Linked DNA regions of Homo sapiens: region 2 is linked to region 1. The links are contacts of gene promoters, found by promoter capture Hi-C in human tissues and cell types (Jung and others, 2019). All regions are on one chromosome and are shown on one strand. The core of a region is centred on a gene start or on the middle of the fragment in contact, and the rest is flanking DNA. Distances in the headings are between cores, read along the strand shown. Region 1 holds the start of ZNFX1 (zinc finger NFX1-type containing 1). Region 2 overlaps DDX27 (DEAD-box helicase 27).

Region 1 (4,429 bases), core at 166-2,665:
TGTATTTTTAATAGAGTCAGGGTTTCACCATGTTGGCCAGGCTGGTCTCCAAATCTTGACCTCAGGTGACCCATCTGCCTTGGCCTCCCCAAGTGCTGGGGTTACAGGCGTCAGCCACAGCGCCCGGCCGTCAGAACACTTTTTTAAATACCTAATAAATGCTCGATAGAAAGTGCTTTGTTAAATCCCACGTTTTCCTAGAAAACTAAAGCTTCTCAAAGCACGTGTTTTCTACAGTAGACCCATAGGAGACAAAGACTTACTCGTCAGGAGATCGAAGGTTGTAGATGTCTGCACGTGGCTTCCTTGGAGGTCCAGTGGTGACTCCCTCTTCCAAAATCCATTCTGTACCCGCTGGCTGCTCTAACCTGTGAACCAACAAATAAAGGGCGTTAACCGCCATCTTCCCACGGTCAGAAACGAACAAGGCCGGGCCTTTTGAGGCCGATGTATCAGAACTAACTGGCAAAATATAAGACGTCAGCATTGTCGATCTGATGGGGAAAAAAGTGAAGTCATCATTTACACCAGCCAAGGGCTTCTCAGGCCCGTGCAGAAGGCAGTGGCTTTTCCAGCTCCAGAAACTCATTTCTCCCACGCCCTTAAGGCCTATTTGGGGTCAGAGACGGAGAAGCCACGAGAAGGAGATTAGGGCTGGCCGCAGAGACGACGGCACAAAGAAGGGAAGGGAGGACCAGAGGTCTCCAACGAAGAACATGGAGTTTCCACTCACCACACACAAAACGGGAACTTACGGGCAGGACAATAGCGTATGAAGCCTGACTGCAACTAGGAGAAGTACCACACTCCGGGCACCGCAGACGCGAAAGAACGAATGGCTTCCTGAACCTCCCTTATATAACCAAAGATGGCTTTCGCACCTGCGCACTGGACCCGAAACGCTCTCTTTCCCGCCCGCTCCGCGCGCGTCGCTCTGGGAAATGTAGTCTCGAGCAGCACAGCCCGAGGCGCTCTAGTAGTTGTCCAGGCCGCGTCTAGCCCCGCCCCCTTCCCTCTACACGCCGGGCCACCCGGGCTTGTCCGCTTCCTCGCCATGTCGCGCTTCACACGCACCAAACCGCTCGACGGGTTCCCCTTCCTCTGGGGCCGGCTGAGGCCCGCAAAGGCCTTGGGCGCAGTCATCTCCCGCCCCCCGCGGTCCGCTCCCCTCAGCCGCGCCCGCCTGAGCCCGCCGGCTCCGCCGCCGGGGGGAGCTGAGGTGACGCCCTCCTCGAGGGCGGAGGCGCCGGCCGTGCCTGGGCCAGGCCCTCGTGCTCTCCACCCTGGGCCCCCGCCTCCTCCTTCTCCTCCTCTGGGCCGCCCGCCCGGCTCCGCCCAGGGTCTGCGGGGAACGGAAACCGAAAGTGCGCGGCGCCGGGCGGGGCCACCGACCTGCCTGGGCCGAAGCCCCAGCACTCGCCGGCGGCAGTGAAAGGACGCGCCGGAGCCGGGTGAGTGGCCCCGCAACTGCCCCTGCCCCTGATTCTTCCTTGCCTCGCCGCGAACCCCGGCGCCCGCGCCGACCCGCCACTGCCTCTGCCCGTAAGACCTGTCACCCTCTCAAGCCCCCAACGCACCCGTCACCCGCTCAGAGCCCCTGGCCCCTCAGCGCCCCGTCGCCCCCTCAATCCCCAGACCCCCATCACCCACTCAGAGCCTTGTCACCTCTTTGGCCCCCAGCGGCATCAGCACCCACTCAGAGCGCCTCTCAGCGCCCCGTCTCCCCCTCAGACCCCAGACCTCCATCGCCTACTCAGCGCCCCGTCACCCACTCAGCCCCTGGCCCATCTCAGCGCCCCGTCGCCCCTTCGGCTCCCCTGTACTCTCTTTAGTGTCCCCATCCCCTCAGCTGGCCCGTCGCTCTCCCCAGCACCCCCGACACCGTCACCGCTTCTGCCCTCAGCACTTCGATCTCCTCTGCCCCTACCCCTGTCTGTGCCCTCCCTTCTGCCACTCGCACCCCCCTCATTCCTCCGGCCTCACCTCCTGTCACCTTATCAATCCCCCTCTTCTACAGAGCACCTCGGCACCCCCTTCAGCCTGCTCCCTGCCCCCACCCCGCCGCCTCCGTCCTCAGCAAGCACCCCCTGGTGCTCGCTACCACCCTCTCCCCAAGGCCCCCATAACCCCGCCACCTCACAGCCTTGGCGCTCCCTGACCCCATAACATTTCCATTAGGGACCGTGGGCTCCCTGGGTCAGGGATTCCCCAGGACCCTGGAGACTTCCCCCAAACCCAGCTCTGCCTCCGACCTCAGCCTCCTGCGTCCCACTCTGGTGATGACTAGCCCCTCTCATTCTGACTCCAGGCCAGCTTGATCATCACTGATTTTCTTCTTCGTGCCCTTTAGGCCTTGATTCCCCCCACCAAAAAAAAACACTTCAGTCTGTTTTCGATCCCAGCATTTCCTGTTCATGTCTACTCCTCCCTTCCTTCCCTTGCCTTTTTTTTAACATCTTTTTTTCTTTTCTTCCGTTTCTTTTAAATTTTCTGGAGTTTCTATTTTAGCATTTTTCAACAAGGGGAAGAAGGAATTTTCCCCTCGGAGAATTGAAAATAAACAAACAAACTCTAAATACTGAGCCTGCGCCAGGAGGGCTGGGTTTGATAAGATGAGGGAGGGGACTCACCAGAGATATTCCCAGGGGGAAGAAAAGAGACTCCTTTTTCAGATGAGGAAAAAAGCTGCCCCTCATATAATGCCAAATGTAGTCACAGTTTCCAATTATGAATATTTTAGAACTCAGTGAAGACAGTCTCAAAAATCCCTTTGCTGAGGACTCTGAGTCACCCACTCTTTCCTTAGCCCCAGCCCACACCATGTGTATGAGTTGGGTTGAGAAGCTCCCTTAAAGGGGCTTCCTCTTCCTCTTACAGGACCAGTGTCAAAAATCACCAAGGTAGAAGAATGAGGAGGAAGAAAGAATATCAGATTTCTAGCTGGTCCTGAGGAAACAGCACCTCGTAGTTGCCAAACCTCCTGGTTATTGAAACATGTAATTTCTTTCTCTTGATTCAGTAGAGCAGAGAGCTTAATCATTTGGCTCCATTCCAAAGAGTAGGCTAAGGGGATAACTGCTCACTAATTATTTATAAACTGTAGGGTACTGCAAGCTATTGGGTACTATATAAGTGGCAGATATGTAAATGCCAGATAAGGTGGTGAGCACATGGTTTTGGATTAACAAAAATGTACTCCTTTTTGTCCTGGCAACAATATTGTCTGCTTCTTAGGAAAGGAAAATGAAACCTAGCAACTGATTAAGTAACTTGGCTAAAGGCATAAACCAAACAGCAGTTTTGAATGGGAATTGATGACATTCCCTCTACCCCAAGAAAGTGCCAGGGTAAAAGAAAGGGGAATTCTATCTCTTGAAATCAGCTAAATTGTGAATTTAATATTTTATATCATAATTGGGCATTTGCAGAGTCGAGCACTTGTGCTCTAGATTAAAATCTGTATTTAACCCTTAGTTAACAAATCATTAAAATGTTAACAAAGGCAGAAGGACTGGCTTGATGGTGTTTGGGTTTTTGCTGCTAGATGCTATGTTTCGAGGACACTGATAACTCAACATGTGCAGTTTTCCAGATAACAGAAAGTAACGTGAAGGAATTCAGGTGACTCAGACATGGAGGAGAGAAGACCTCATCTGGATGCCAGGCCCAGGAATTCCCATACCAACCACAGAGGTAAGCAAGGTTTCCTACCTAATGAGAAGGAAATTCTAGTAATAAAAGAAGGAAATAGGGCTCTCTATAAATGAGCAGGCCTACCTAAGATTGTCTGCATCTCTCAAGTAAAGAATGACTATGGCTGGATGCAGTGGCTCAAGCCTATAATCCTAGCATTTTGGGAGCCTGAGGCGGGAGGATTGTTTACGCCCAGGGGATTGAGACCAGCCTGGGCAACATGGCAATAGGCTTTCTCTACAAAAAAATATATAAATTAGCCGGGCTTGGTGCTGCGTGCCTGTAGTCCCAGCTACTTAGGCTACTTGGGAGGCTGAAGTGGGAGGATCCCTTGAACCTCAGGAAGGGGTGGGTGTAGAAGGCAGAGGTTGCTCTGGACTGTGATCTGGCCTCTGCACTCCAGCCTGGGTGACAGAAAGACCTTGTCTCAAAAAAAAAAAGAATGAGTTATTTCTTAATTACTTCATGAATTACTCTGAAAAACAGCCAACCCTCCACTTTTCCTAAGAGAGCTGATGAATGGGTGCAGTTCACTTTAACAAAAACAGTGATAGAGTTTCAGAAAGGGAAATGACGTTTGGTGTAGAGCAGCATCCAATAGAAACAATGTAAGCCAAGAGCATAAGTTTTTATTTTTTATTTTATTTTTTTTTTTTGAGACAGAGTCTCGCTCTTTCGCCCAGGCTGGAGTGCAGTGGCGCGATCTCTGCTCACTGCAAGCTCCGCCTCCCGGGTT
Region 2 (4,116 bases), core at 135-2,634, 34 kb after region 1:
TGACTTAGGTGCAGCCTGAATGAATAGCTTTGAACACACTCTTTAGTATCTAGGGTATGTGCTACTGGATAACTTATAATTTTTAAGCTGGGGGTAGGGTGGTAAGTACTCCCTGAAATTATAACAAACTATACAGTTTTCCAGGTGGGGCCCCACAGCTTTCATCTCATTCTGAGTCAGAAAAGGATGAGAACCGACGTTCTTACAGGATCAAAACTGGTTTTTGGCCAGGTACAGTGGTTCAAGCCTGTAATCCCAGCACTTTGGGAGGCTGAGGTGGTGGATCACCTGAGGTCAGGAGTTCAAGACCAGCCTGGCCAACATGGTGAAACCCTGTCTCTCCTAAAAATACAAAAATTAGCCAGGCATGGTAGCGGGCACCTGTAATCACCGGTATTTGGGAGGCTGAGGCAGGAGATTCGCTTGAACCCGGGAGGTGGAGGTTGCAATGAGCCAAGATCGTGTCATTGCACTCCAGCCTGGAGGACAAGAGACTCTGGTTTTTGCAGCAAGTAACTAATTTATGGTGTCAAGGCTCCTTCTGTCCTTTTCGGGCTTCCATTTCTCCAGCAGCATTTCCACAGCACAGCAGCAAGAGGTAAGGTGAGGGTTCAAGTAGATGTTGGTTGAAAACCTGAATTCCCAGCTGTGCAACTCTGGAAAGTTAGTCTTTCCAAGCCTCTGTTTATTGGAAAATGAGGATATCACTGCCTGCCTCACAGGAGTGCAGTGAGTTGACTGGATTCTATTCAGCACACAGAATATCTGGTGCATGGTTGGCATTCATGCTAAAGTTCTCCCCTGTTGATGTTTTAGAACTAAGAGTTATCATTTAGCTATCTTCTTCAGCTATCATTTAGCTCTTAGTTCTAGAGTATCAACAGAAGAGAACTTTTCTGTTGTTGTTGTTTTTTTTTAAGAGACAGGGTCTTGTTATGTTCCCCAGGCTAGAAGAGAACTTCTACCAAGAATTTCCTCACTCCATACCCTGTTCCTCTACAAGCATAAAGATTATGCATACCAACTGTATGTGGTGATACCAAGCTAGTAGACTGTGGGCACATTTGCCATTGAGGAAGAGATAGTAATAAGATATACACTTGGATTGGTTTCTCTTTTCCCAAAAATACTTCCATTTAATATAGTCATATGAAAGCTAATCAGCAAGAAGGGAGATTGACAGACATGCTTAGGAAAATAGCTACGTACCATACCACCACACCAAAGTGTTGTTTTTTGTTTTTGTTTTTTTTTTAAACAAATGGAGAAAAGACAGACCAGCCAGGATGACTTCCCACAGGGAAGGGATTTAAGGGCTGCCCCCATGAATTTCTTCAGGCCACGACAGCTACTTCCTCCTCTTGTATCTGTAAGAAAATCAGAGTTAAGACCAGAATGAGGATGGAGAAGCTTCTTTTCCATGAAAGGTTTTTATCTCTAATCCCAAAACCTATGCCCCTCCAAAACAGCCAGTATCACCTGGATTTAGATTTAAAGTTTCCTCCTCGTCTCTGGTGGGGCAAGCCCAACTGTTTCCTTTCTTCAAAGGAAGGGCTGTGAGAGAAGATGACATGCTGAAATGAGCAAACTGTTGAACAAATGGGTGTTGTCTCACCCCCACCCTCCCCAGCTCCTACATGAAGCAGTAGCATCTCTGGGATGCATCATTTTCAGGCCCTAAGTTCTAAGCCTTTATGTGTTTCCACCTGATAACGTGTTTCTGGAAGTCAGGGCCCAATTTTAAAACAAGGTTGGAAGAGGCCCTTCTTAGGTATATACCACTACTTGGGAAGCTTAGTCTGCCCCTGCCCCAACCTTGGGCTGGGGAAAATGGTGTGGGACAACATATTCCTAAGAGCAAGCCAGGATTCTCTGGGGTTCTGCAGGATGGAACTTGAGATGAAAGAGTTATCACTCCCCTGAAGGAAAGCTCCATTTCTGAACCCAACAATGTACTATTTCACCTCCAAGGCAGGAACAGTGCTAACTGAACACCCCTCTCCTGTTCTCACCTTGGGATCCTCAGGTGGCTCTGAGAGGGGTGGGGGGTGGAGAACAGACAGGTACCCTTGAATTTACATAGTATAAAGCTATAGGTGTGCAAAAACTGGAAATGGGGAAGGAGGCAGAAGACTCATAGCTTCCATTAGAATACCAAGGGCTCGCCGGGCACGGTGGCTCAAGCCTGTAATCCCAGCACTTTGGGAGGCTGAGGCGGGTGGATCAGGAGGTCAAGAGATCGAGACCATCCTGGCAAACATGGTGAAACCCCATCTCTACTAAAAATACAAAAATTAGTTGGGCATGGTGGCGTGCGCCTATAGTCCCAGCTTCTTGGGAGACTGAGGCAGGAGAATTGCTTGAACCCAGGAGGTGGAGCTTGCAGTGAGCTAAGATGCACCACTGCACTCCACCCTGGGCGACAGAGCGAGACTCCGTCTCAAAAAAAAAAAAAAAAAAAAAAAGAATACCAAGGGCTCCATGATGACTTAAAATCCTACCCAGCTCGATACTGTTTCAGGGCCTTCTTGCTTGTGTTGGTGAGTTCTTCATCAAATACAGATTTCTTCCCCTGCTTTTGCTTCTTGGCTGTGCACAGAGAGAATGGGTTACATATGGTTGTCTTTGGCCCAAGCTCCTAAATCCCCTTAAGTTCAAGGTAATGATTCCAAGTTCAGTGGATACTCTGGCATCCAAAGACTATTTTCATTCTGTCCTCACCAGCTCCTCCAAGTAGCAGCTGGTGAGGCCTTAGGCTCCGGAGTCAGAAAAGCTGGCGTTCAAATCCTAGTTCTCAACAACCACAAGGTCACTGCGCCCCTTAGACCGTGGAGGGATAGCTGTACACATTGGTACATACTAATTACTCAAATAATGTGGGCTACTGTCATCATCCCTCAGATTTTCTCCCTGACCCAAAGCACAGGTTTCAGGGAAAACCTTGTACAAGCTCCTTTGGGCTCCCCATTCACCTACCAGGACCTCTCACTGGCTCCTCCTCGGGCATTGCTCGGGCCCGCTTGGCTCTGCGATTCCTCTTCGCTAGCCGTTCAGCAAACATCTGCGCCTTGAGGATTTCAAACTGAGACCTTTCCTCTGCCTAGGGGGAGTGGGGAGGTGTGAGTGTGGAACACACCAGGCCACTCTGACCCACCCCACCGAGTGGGCCCAAACTCCAAAAGGGAGGCCACTCACTGTCATCTCCCCCTTTTTTTTGGCATCCTTCATAAACTTCTTCCTTTTCTTCTTTCCTCTTAAGGCCAAGTCAAATTCCTGCAGAGCTTTGGCAACTGGGATGAGAAGAAAGCATAAGATTTCAGGGATGATTTTATCTTTTTTTAAGCTTACGATAAGAAGTGCACGTTTTCAATTGGTAAGTTAGCAGATTAAAATGAAAAGCGGCAAGCACTTCTTGGCCGAGTGCAGTAGCTCGTGCCTGTAGTCTCAGCACTTTGGGAGGCTGAGGTGGGTGGATCACCTGAGGTCAGGAGTTTGGGATCAGCATGGCCAACATGGTGAAACCCCGACTACTAAAAATACAAAAATTAGCTGGGCATGGTGGTGCACCTGTAATCCCAGCTACTTGGGAGGCTGAGGTGAGAGAATTGCTTGAACTTAGGAAGGGGAGGCTGCAGTGAGCTGAGATCGCGCCACTGCACTCCAGCCTGGGCGACAGAGCGAGACCCTGCCTCAAAAAAAAAAAAGAAAAGAAAAGCCGCAAGCACTTCTTCCACTGATTACCTCCATCTCACTAAATAACATGCTTTTTTGACTATTTCTCAATCCACTTAAGATACTCATTACAAACCTCCTGCTATGAAGGATGAAGATTTAGGTCACTTTACTACTTTACCCACCAATACAGTTATAACTCTATTTTTATCAGAAATTTAAGTTATATACACCCTTATTTTGTCCCATCAAATATAGACAGCATTTCTAAAACTGCTGGTATACCCTCTAGGAGGGAAATTTTGCAACCTCTAACAAAACTAGAAATACAAATATCCTCTGACCCACTATTCCACTTTTAGGAATTAATCCTGCAAGCCAAATATACACTTGCTTAATTGTAAAAGGGCATATGTGCAAGGTTATTCCCTACATCACTTGTTT

The links. Contacts are between HindIII fragments. The study calls those that stand out against the background at their distance.
Region 2: a contact is called between a fragment that was not itself captured here and the fragment with the promoter of ZNFX1 in region 1, in 6 of the 25 tissues and cell types used here (H1 embryonic stem cells, aorta, mesenchymal stem cells and 3 more).

Annotation. Positions count from the first base shown.
Region 1 is chr20:49,275,043-49,279,471 of GRCh38, reverse strand. ZNFX1 (zinc finger NFX1-type containing 1) reads left to right here and starts at 1,415. Exons shown (of 14, transcript NM_021035.3): 1 at 1,415-1,451; 2 at 3,585-3,693. The coding sequence starts at 3,633. It overlaps ZFAS1 (ZNFX1 antisense RNA 1), which reads right to left and starts at 1,294. Exons shown (of 4, transcript NR_036658.2): 1 at 756-1,294; 2 at 264-368. It overlaps SNORD12C (small nucleolar RNA, C/D box 12C), which reads right to left and starts at 527; the gene lies at 449-527. RefSeq lists enhancers at 711-910, 786-1,080, 838-1,338, 1,339-1,839, 2,181-2,240 and silencers at 1,001-1,360, 1,411-1,640. The HindIII fragment of the contact is 7,798 bases long and covers 1-4,429 here.
Region 2 is chr20:49,241,067-49,245,182 of GRCh38, reverse strand. It overlaps DDX27 (DEAD-box helicase 27), which reads right to left. Exons shown (of 21, transcript NM_017895.8): 17 at 3,196-3,290; 18 at 2,977-3,100; 19 at 2,502-2,589; 20 at 1,480-1,554; 21 at 1,110-1,367. The coding sequence ends at 1,349. Among named protein-coding and RNA genes, the nearest start is that of DDX27, 24 kb to the right of the region's middle. The HindIII fragment of the contact is 5,369 bases long and covers 1-4,068 here.